Linked DNA regions of Homo sapiens: region 1 is linked to region 2. The links are contacts of gene promoters, found by promoter capture Hi-C in human tissues and cell types (Jung and others, 2019). All regions are on one chromosome and are shown on one strand. Each heading gives the region's core, a stretch centred on a gene start or on the middle of the fragment in contact. The rest is flanking DNA. Distances are from core to core; before and after follow the strand shown. Region 1 holds the start of TFRC (transferrin receptor). Region 2 holds the start of WDR53 (WD repeat domain 53).

Evidence for each region. Contacts are between HindIII fragments. The study calls those that stand out against the background at their distance.
Region 1: a contact is called between the fragment with the promoter of TFRC here and the fragment with the promoter of WDR53 in region 2, in 1 of the 25 tissues and cell types used here (mesenchymal stem cells).

Annotation. Positions count from the first base shown.
Region 1 is chr3:196,079,946-196,084,626 of GRCh38, forward strand. It overlaps TFRC (transferrin receptor), which reads right to left and starts at 2,145. Exons shown (of 19, transcript NM_001128148.3): 1 at 2,098-2,145. RefSeq lists an enhancer at 397-896 and silencers at 1,778-2,077, 2,128-2,467. The HindIII fragment of the contact is 11,516 bases long and covers 78-4,681 here.
Region 2 is chr3:196,566,792-196,571,767 of GRCh38, forward strand. WDR53 (WD repeat domain 53) reads right to left here and starts at 1,763. Exons shown (of 4, transcript NM_182627.3): 1 at 1,728-1,763; 2 at 86-516. It overlaps FBXO45 (F-box protein 45), which reads left to right and starts at 1,869. Exons shown (of 3, transcript NM_001105573.2): 1 at 1,869-2,511. The coding sequence starts at 2,194. RefSeq lists enhancers at 1-1,104, 3,122-3,670, 3,671-4,218 and silencers at 1,826-2,365, 2,487-2,781. The HindIII fragment of the contact is 3,803 bases long and covers 1-3,720 here.

The DNA of each region.
Region 1 (4,681 bases), core at 895-3,394, 490 kb before region 2:
AACTGGTATTGAACTACCTGATAATGAGTAAAAATATTGTCTTTAACAGTACTGGGGCATGCCTGATGCATGAGATTCCAAATGATATGAAAAATATAATGAAAACATTGGACCAGGAATCTTTTCCCGTCCCCATCACTCTTCTGGTTTAGTAGGGAGTTTTTTTGTTGTTGTTTTTGAGATGGCATCTCGCTGTCGCGCAGGCTGGAGTGCAGTAGCACGATCTCAGCTCACTACAACCTCTGCCTCCCAGGTTAAAGCGACTCTCGAGCCTCAGCCTCCTGAGTGGCTGGGATTACAGGTGTGCACCACCATGCCCAGCTAATTTTTGTATTTTTCGTAGAGACGGGGTTTCACCATGTTGGCCAGGCTAGTCTCGAACTCCTCACCACAAGTGATCCACCTGCCTCGGCCTCCCAAAGTGCTGGAATTACAGACGTGAGCCACCATGCCCGGCTAATTTTTGTGTTTTTAGTAGAGACAGGATTTCACCATGTTAGTCAGACTGGACTCGAACTCCTGACCTTAGGTGATCCGCCTGCCTTGGCCTCCCAAAGTGCTGGGATTACAGGCGGGAGCCAATGCGCCCAGCCGAGGGTCATTTTTAACTAGCATTGTGATCGATTCAGGTTTAGCTGGGAATCTTGCTCCATGACATTTAAATACATTATCAGAGGCAAGTAACTGCCTCGCCTTAGGGCGGAGTTAGCCAAACTGCTGTCTATCTAACAATCTTCAACACAGGCTAGGTTTACAGCCACCATTACTTGATAAGAACATCCAAAGGAAATTGAAGGATGCTATGCTATATATAACCTTGCAAAATCGATGACAAAAATTATCTTAACTCTGAGTTTTCTTGAGAAGCATATTGTAACCCAAAATTCAGGGCCGGGGGGCGGGGGGAACCAGCAGGGTCCACAAGTACTCTAGACAGCCTAACCTTAATTTTCACAGTAAGCTTAGCATATAAGCATGGGGTAGCCAAATACAATTTCCTACTTTAATCCTCTTATCAACGGGGAAGAAAATGGAAAAAGCTGCAGAATCCAGTCCCCCGGGTAAGTGAGGTCTCTACAAGCAGTAAGCAGAGGGAAAGCGTTATCCGAAAAGAGCCGAATCAGAATGTATTTTCTTACCCACCCTCCCAACCTTAAAAGAACTGTCCAGCAGAATGTGACACAATCGGCCTCTCCGGCGCCCATCAATCCAGCACAGCCCTCTGACCACACCGCTAATCTCCAAGTATCTTTCACAAATAAGTCACTCCTATGGCTCCCGTCTTGTAGTGAGAACTGCTAGCAATATTCTTAATGTGAACACCTGCGGCGTTCAGTCGGATTCTGCCTTGAGAAAACAGAATCCACACACAAGGCGAACAGGCAGAGCATGGCAAGATCAGGTTGTACCAGAGCCGAAGGGTAAGTTTACAGAAACCCGTATCTAATTAATGCCTGTAACACGCTAGTAACCGAATCGGGGACAGCTTTGTCCCTTTCCGCAGTGAGAACGGGGCCCGCCCGGAGCCCGGGGAACCGAAGGTTTAGGAGCCCAAGGTCACCCACGAATCCCAGCCGTTCCCTGGGGCGACTTCCTGGAGCAGCCACGTGTTCCCCCGGCGCCGCACGCCGCGCAGCTGCACCTTGGCTGCGCCCGCGCTCCCGGACCCGCAGCCCGGAGCCGGCGCACTAGGGCCTGCGGCCTTCAAGGGCGAGGACCCGAAGTCCCCGGGGCTGAGAGCGACAGTGGGGGTACACCTGGTCTCGTCATTCGTCGCTCTGTGACCGAGGAGGCGGGCAAGAAGGCAGAGAGAAGGGAAGGGACGAGAGGCGAAGGGACGAGAGGCGCAGGGACGCCTCTGCGCACAGCCGCCGACCCCGTGTACCTGCAGCCGCTCGAGGCGCCGCCACAGCCCCTTCCCCACAGGCTCGCGGCCCCGCTCCATCCCGGCCGCCCCGCCTGGGGCCGCGACCGCTTTCCCGCTCCCCGTGCGGCTCCCTATGGCTGCTGGACAGCACCGGAGCGGCCGCTCCAGCCAGCCCCGCAGGATGAAGGGAGGACACGAGGGTCGGTGTAGTTCTAGAAGCCCGCACTCACACTAGCGCGTCCTCCGTCCCGAGCCGCCACCCGATATCCCGACGCTCTGAGGGGATGGCGGCCCCTAACCGGCGGTTTATAGCCTGGCCCCGCCCCCGGCCCCCAGGGGGGCTGTGCGTCACTTCCTGAGGCACGTACGCTCGCGAGGTGCTCTGACAGATCGCCCGGGGGGCGGGGATGCGCGCGCAGCGGGCGGGGCCCTATGCGGAGGGCGCTGCGGGCGAGGCGAAGGCCAAGGGAAAAGGCGCCAAGGCAGCAGGTGCCCCGAGGAGCCGCGCGATGGGCGCACTGGCCTCTGCCTCGGCGCCTTCCTCCACCCTGGTAGCCTGGCAGCCTCCGCCTGACCTTGACCAACCTCCAGTCCCTGCAGTGCTAGGTCCAATCTGTTGGCGTTGACGCTTAAATGTTGGATATTGCACTGCGGCAGTGCCTTGAAATGTACGTGCAGGATGGAATGTTAGGTAACTATTAAAGCCACTCTTGTGAAGATGTATTTTGCAGCCTCAGAAATACAAAAAGGAAAAGAAAAGCAAAATGCAAATTTTTATTCAGAATGTATACAAGCTGCACTTTAACCAAGACTAGCGGAGTGCTTTGCGTAATGTTTAATGCATGAGGGAATAAAAGGGAAAATAGAAACAAGTGACTTAATAGGGTGATAGGATTGTAGATTAACTTTCGTTTTCATTGCCATCGCTGTTATTGGATTGTGCAATGAATAACAAATAAATAAAATTCAATTCTTGTCACTGTTTAAACTCTTTCCAAACAATCACACCCTCTCCCTCCCTCTGGTCAGTAACCAGCAGGCCAGGGAGGTAGTAGCTACAATGCAAGAAAGCAACCCATACCTTAAAAAGCATTGCACATAAACTGACCTTCAGGCCCGTAGGGACACAGAACAGCCCTTTAAGAAGCAAATCCGTTTCTGGGCCTTGGGCTTTTACTCTTCCCTTTATTTCTTCTGCTCTAAGATAGAGAAAGTACTTGGGATTCTCACCGCCTTTCTCTTTACTCCCATTCTCTAAAATCTCTCTCCCCAAAGAGAAGTGTTTAAAAGTCATATGAGTTGCCAGGCGCGGTGGCTCACGCCTGCAATCCTAACACTTTGGGAGGCCGAGGTGAGCGGATCACGAGGTCTGGAGTTCGAGACCAGCCTGACCAATATGGTGAAACCCCATCTCTACTAAAAAAATTTCAAAAAAAATTAGCCAGGCATAGTGGCACGCGCCTGTAATCCCAGCTACTCAGGAGGCTGAGGCAGAAGAATCGCTTGAACCCAAGAGGCGGAGGTTGCAGTGAGCCAAGATCGCGCCATTGCACTCCAACCTGGGCGACAGAGCAAGATTCCATCTCAAAAAAAAAAAAAAGTCATATGAGCAGGAGCATTGCTGCACCTTTAATGATCTAATCAGGAAAAGGTTAAGGATGCACATCCACAGAGGGCCTACCTTAACATTCAGACACCAGGCCTGCTCCCCTGTGGTGTTCCTTCTTTATTTCTTTAATTATTAATTTTATTTATTTTTATTATTTTTACTTTTAAGACAGTGTCTTGCTCTGTCACCCTGGCTGGAGTACAGTGGCATGATCTCGGGCTCACTGCAACCTCTGCCTCCGGATTCAAGCGATTCTCCTGCCTCAGCCTCCCAAGTAGCTGGGACTACAGGTGTGTGCCACCATGCCAGGCTAATTTTTGTATTTTGAGGAGTGACGGGATTTTATCATGTTGGCCAGGCTTGTCTCGAATTCCTGACCTCAGGTGATCTGCCCACCTTGGCCTCCTAAAATGTTGGGATAACAGGCATGAGCCACCATGCCCAGCCTATTTATTTTTTATTTTTAATTTGACGCAGGGTTTGCTATGTAGCCCAGACTAGTCTTGAACTCCTGGGCTCAAACAATCCTCCTGCCTCCGGTCTCCCAAAGTGCTGGGATTATAGGCATGAGCTAACATGCCTGGCTTTCTGCCTTTCCTTGACTGAAGTATCTTTTAAAAAGAAACAAACAATGCTGGTATTTGCAGGTGAAAATCTTATAGCCTCATGGAGGACATAGGTTTAGGTGGCCAGATGCGATGGCTAATCCCTGTAATCCCAACACTTTGGGAGACTGAGGCAGGTGGATCTTCTGAGGTCAGGAGTTCAAGACCAGCCTGGCCAGCATGATAAAACCCCATCACAACTAAAAATACAAAATTTAGTCTGGCGTGGTGGCGCACACCTGTAGTCCCAGCTACTCCAGAGGCTGAGGCAGGAGAATCGTTTGAACCCGGGAGGGGGGTGGCTGCAGTGAGCTGAGATCACACCACTGCCCTTCAGCCTGGGCAGCAGAGCAAGACTCTGTCTCAAAAAAAAAAAAAAAAAAGAAAGAAAGAAAGAAAAGAAAAGAAAGAAAAATATGTTTAGGAGACATTTAGAGGCCAGGACCATTTGGACATGAAAATTCAAATCTCAAAAATTTATATTCACTAAAATAAAACCATAAACGTGACACTAAAGAGGCTATCAATTATATTTTTATTTTTATGCTGTTATTAGTATTAATAGACACTGCAATTAAAGTCCACTTATTAACACTTTTA
Region 2 (4,976 bases), core at 513-3,012:
TGGGGAAGGGGCTTGGTGGGGTGGGTGATGAGCAGGTGAAAGATTTGTAAAAAAGAAAAGGAGGGGTTGAGAAGGGTAATCTTACTTTGAAATTCTACCTGGGGCGCTCAGGAGACGGTCTGCCGTTGAAAGTCACCTCAGCGGCTGGACTAGATTAGTAAGAATGACAACATCGCATCCTTCAAAGGCTCTGCCTCGGCTGCACTGAGACACGATAAAGGCCAGTCTTTAAAAACTGAGTGATCTCTAAACACTCTGCACTAGTCATACCACCACCGTCCCGTTCAAGAGTCTGTGCCTCTAAGGCTGTTCATTCTGTCTAGTTCATGATCCCTTTCTCAGATGGATCAACTCTGCTTATCCTTGAAGACTTCAAAGAAATTAGTGAGAGACAGTCACCATCACCAGAGTCAGCACAGGTCAACTTTTCTCTACAGGCTTGGGGTTTCTGAAGTTGGACTTGATGTGGAGAAGCTGGATAGCAACCAAAATGATTGAAGGGCTGTGGCGCTGGCACTGGTAAGAATGAAAAGAATTAGGGTTACTGGACTTGGTGAAAAAGACATGAGGAGAAGGGACAGGCAAATAATAATCAAACACCATGAATCAGAGGGTAGGGAAGGTAGCCACCGTTCCTTTGCTTTTACTAGAGACTAAGAAATGGATTATACATAGCAAGAAGCTTCAGAAAAGATTTCTTACTACATAAAGGTTCCAAGACATTGGAGTTGACCAAGGGAGTCTGTGAACCCTATTATTTTAATTACTCAGCTCATGGAGTTGTTTTGAGGATTACGTATATAAAAATCTGCGTAAATGACGTAGTATACAGTGCCTGGTTCACACCGTGGCTCAAATGATGGTTATTATTATTCTCTTACTAAGCATGCTTTAAAGGCTGTCGGAAAACTTTGGGGCCACCTAGGAAATCGTAGTATAATCAAATAATGCTGAAATTCTTGTGTGTGTGTGTGTGTGTGTGTGTGTGTGTGTGTGAGGTAGGGGCTCACTCTGTCGCCCAGGCTGGAGCACAGCAGGGCGATTACGGTTCACCTCAGCCTCGACCTCCCGGGCTCAGCCTCCCAAGTAGCTGGGACCAGAGGCGCACGCCACCACCCTCGGCTAATTTTTCTATTTTTTTGTAGCGACACTGCCTCGCAATGTTGCCCAAGCTGGGATGCTGAAATTCTTCCCCTTCCAAGAATCCATCTATAATTATAGCCTCCACGTCATTCTCCCTATTGGAATGTTTAATTGACTAAAACTACATTGCCTTCATCTGCTTACTAAGCGGTGGATCCAGTAAAGACCACATCTTGTCCAAAAGACGGCAGCACTTAATTAGCGCTCAAATGGCACTCGAACGTTTGGGCGAGGGGGTGTTCAGTCGCAGCCACCTTACTTTGCGAAGGCACACAGGGACAGACGTTCGCTAAGTGCCGATACTTAGGGAGAACGAGAGGGCCTGACCAGGTAAAGACGGCCTCCGCTGCCCAAGCTACACAAAAAGGTTGGGGAGCCAGGACCCGGCAAGCAAGGAGAGAAAAGTTTCATGCGTTGAGCTGGAGTCTGAAGCAAGGACCTAACGGACACAGGGAAACGTCACAGGAAAGGGAGCCCAGGAGAGCAGACGCGGAGCCACCAGACCAGAAAAAGGAAAAAGCACTGGAAAACAGCATCGAAGTCACCGGAAAGCAGCATCGAAGCCACCGGCGCCAGCCTCATACCTGCGCTTCCCGCTCCCCTCCTCGGCGCCTAGTGATAACCTCACCCGCCGGCGCCCAATCCCGTCGAGCGTCAGGCGTGAGGCGGCGCAGCCAAACAGTCACATCCGGGGCCGAGAGGAACCGCGAACGAGCTGGGCGTGCGCCCTTGCTTCGTGCCCTCAACCCGCATGGCGGAGCCGCTGGCGCGCCGCGGAGAGGCCGGGCGAGTCGGGCGGTTTCGGCGCCCGCGCTGAGCCGCGGAGGAGGGGCGGAGGACGCCCCTGCAGCCGGTGCGTCTGCCCTCAGTGAGGCGGGGCGCGCGGCGGACGCCCCCGGGCAGGGGCGGGAGTGGTGGAGGCGCCGGCGGTTGGCACTGACAGGGGCGGTGAGCGAGCCGCTCCGGTCTCCGGGCGAGGCTTGGCCTTCCGAGCAGAGACGGCGGGAAGCGGCGGCGGCAGCGGCGGCCCTAGGGCCGGCTGGTGAGGCGATGGCGGCGCCGGCCCCGGGGGCTGGGGCAGCCTCGGGCGGCGCTGGCTGTAGCGGCGGCGGCGCGGGCGCGGGCGCGGGCTCGGGCTCTGGGGCCGCGGGGGCCGGGGGCCGGCTGCCCAGCCGGGTGCTGGAGTTGGTGTTCTCTTACCTGGAGCTGTCCGAGCTGCGGAGCTGCGCCCTGGTGTGCAAGCACTGGTACCGCTGCCTGCACGGCGATGAGAACAGCGAGGTGTGGCGGAGCCTGTGCGCCCGCAGCCTGGCAGAAGAGGCTCTGCGCACGGACATCCTGTGCAACCTGCCCAGCTACAAGGCCAAGGTGAGAGAGCCCCGGGCCACACCGCTGCCCCCAGTCCCGCTCCCCGGCGTCGTTCGCGGTGTTTCTCATCCGAGCTTCTGAGTCAGAAGCTTCGCCTCACCAGCCCGCCTTTCCACGGCTCCAGTCAGTATCTTCCTCACCTCCCCCCAAGATAAAGATTCTCTTTTCTTTGGATCGAAGTTCTGCTCCTTAACCCATCCCACTTCCGTGATCCACTTTTCAAACAACTAGGTAGTTTGCCTCACTCATTCAACTTTTGACAGTTTTCCCCGTTAAAGACAGACCACCACTCTTGTACCTTTTAATGCCCTCATCCTACTTTTCTCCCCGGCCTCCAGATAGACTTCATTATATTAAATAATCCCGGCCACCTTAACATGGGCTTAGTTTCTAAGTTTCTAAGTTTCTAGTTTGCTTTCACTCCACGTTTATCTCATCTTTTCCAAGCTCTGATTTTTAACCATTTGTTTTCATTATTTTCCCCCAAGTTCTCTTTAGTTCCCTCCACTATATTGGAGGCTTACAAGTGAGTGTAGTTCTAGTCATCCTGCTCACTTACAAGATACAGGCTTTTATAGAACGTCCACGGGCACCACCTAACATACTGCTTTGTCCTGCTGTTATTGGCTGTTTCCTTGCTAACTTTTTAATAGTTCCACATTGATGGTGTCTCTCTTTTTCTATTTGTCATCTAACGTGCTGATTACAGTTTCGCTGCATCCTTCCTGCATATTCCGCCCGCCTTCATATACAAAATAAAAATGTCAAGGAACAAGTTGTGGTACGGCTGAAAGGACTCTCAGGCCGAATAAACAAAGGGTCTTGGTCTTGAGTTGAGTTGAATGGTTAACAGCTATTCAGTATAGCAGTCAATCAAGATCATATATAAGAGAAGATAAAGTCTGATTGCAATGTGTTAAACATAATGAATGCATTAGTAACTAAAACGATAACATCCCCCCCTTTTTTTTTTTTTTTGAGACGGAGTGCAATGGCGTGATCTCGGCTCACCGCAACCTCCGCCTTCCAGGTTCAAGCAATTGTCTTGCCTCAGCCTCCCGAGTAGCTGGGATTACAGGCATGCGCCACCATGCCCGGCTAATTTTGTATTTTTAGTAGAGTTGTGGTTTCTTCTTGTTGGTTAGGCTGGCCTCGAACTCCCGACCTCAGGTGATCCGCCCTCCTCGGCCTCCCAGAGTGCTGGGATTAGAGGCGTGAGCCACCGCGCGATAACACCCCCTTTTTAATGCTAGCTTGCCAACAGGGGTCGGAGTAAGAAGTAAAAATTTTTTTTTCATGTGAAGCATGTAAAATTTATACTTATGTAGTAAAACCGGTTTTAGTTATAGAAGATAGGGAACATTGCCATTAAATATGTAAACTATCAAGTTGTTTCTCTTTTCTTTTTTCTTTTTTTTTTTTTTTTTGAGACGGAGTCTCGCTCTGTCACCCAGGCTGGAGTGCAGTGGCGGGATCTCAGCTCACTGCAACCTCCGCCTCCCGGGTTCACGCCATTCTCCTGCCTCAGCCTCCTGAGTAGCTGGGATTACAGGCGCCCGCCACCACGCCCGGCTAATTTTTTGTACTTTCAGTAGAGACAGGGTTTCACCGTGTTAACCAGCATGGTCTCAATCTCCTGACCTCGTGATCCGTCGCCTTGGCCTCCCAAAGTGCTGGGATTACAGGCGTGAGCTCATGCGCCCGGCCTCAAGTTGTTTTTCTATTAAGCGAAATAACAATAATTTACTAGGACTGTTTGTGCGTGGTGGCTATTCAGTGGATACTGGTTGTAATTTATATAGGTGAGTACAGACGATTGGAATTTTGTCCTACTTTGATAAATGTGTCGGTTTCATAAATTTTATTTAGTTTTTATTTTTCTGTAAAGTTTATTGTTTTTACTTATTTTAAACTAGGAGTTTTTGTTGTTGTTTTTGAGACAACAAAACAACAAAACTCTGTCGCCCAGGCTGCAGTGCAGTGGCACAATCATAGCTCACTGCATCCTCGACCTCCTGAGCTCAAGGGATCCTCCTTAGCTTAGCCTCCCGAGTAGCTGGCACTTCAGTCATGTGCCACCACACTGGCTAATTTTTTATTTTTTAGAGACACGGGGTCTCACCTTGTTGCCTAAGCTGGTCTCAAACTCCTGGACTCAAGCGATCTTCTTGCCTCAGCCTCCCAAAGTGCTGGGGTTACAGGCATTAGCCACTGCACCCAGCCTAAATTAGGAGTTGTTGTTTTGATAATTGACTTGTAATAGAAATGTTCACATGATTCAAGATTCATATTATAATATGTAATAGATAATGTGTTCGTGTGAGTCAAGCTTCAATAGAAGCAAAATGATATCAAGCAAAATGTTTTCCTTTCATCCTTGTCGCTCAGCTACCCGGTTCCTCTCCATGTATGCAACCTGTCTTACTTTTTCTTTTGTATCCTTCCAGAGATATTTTAGGTTTCTG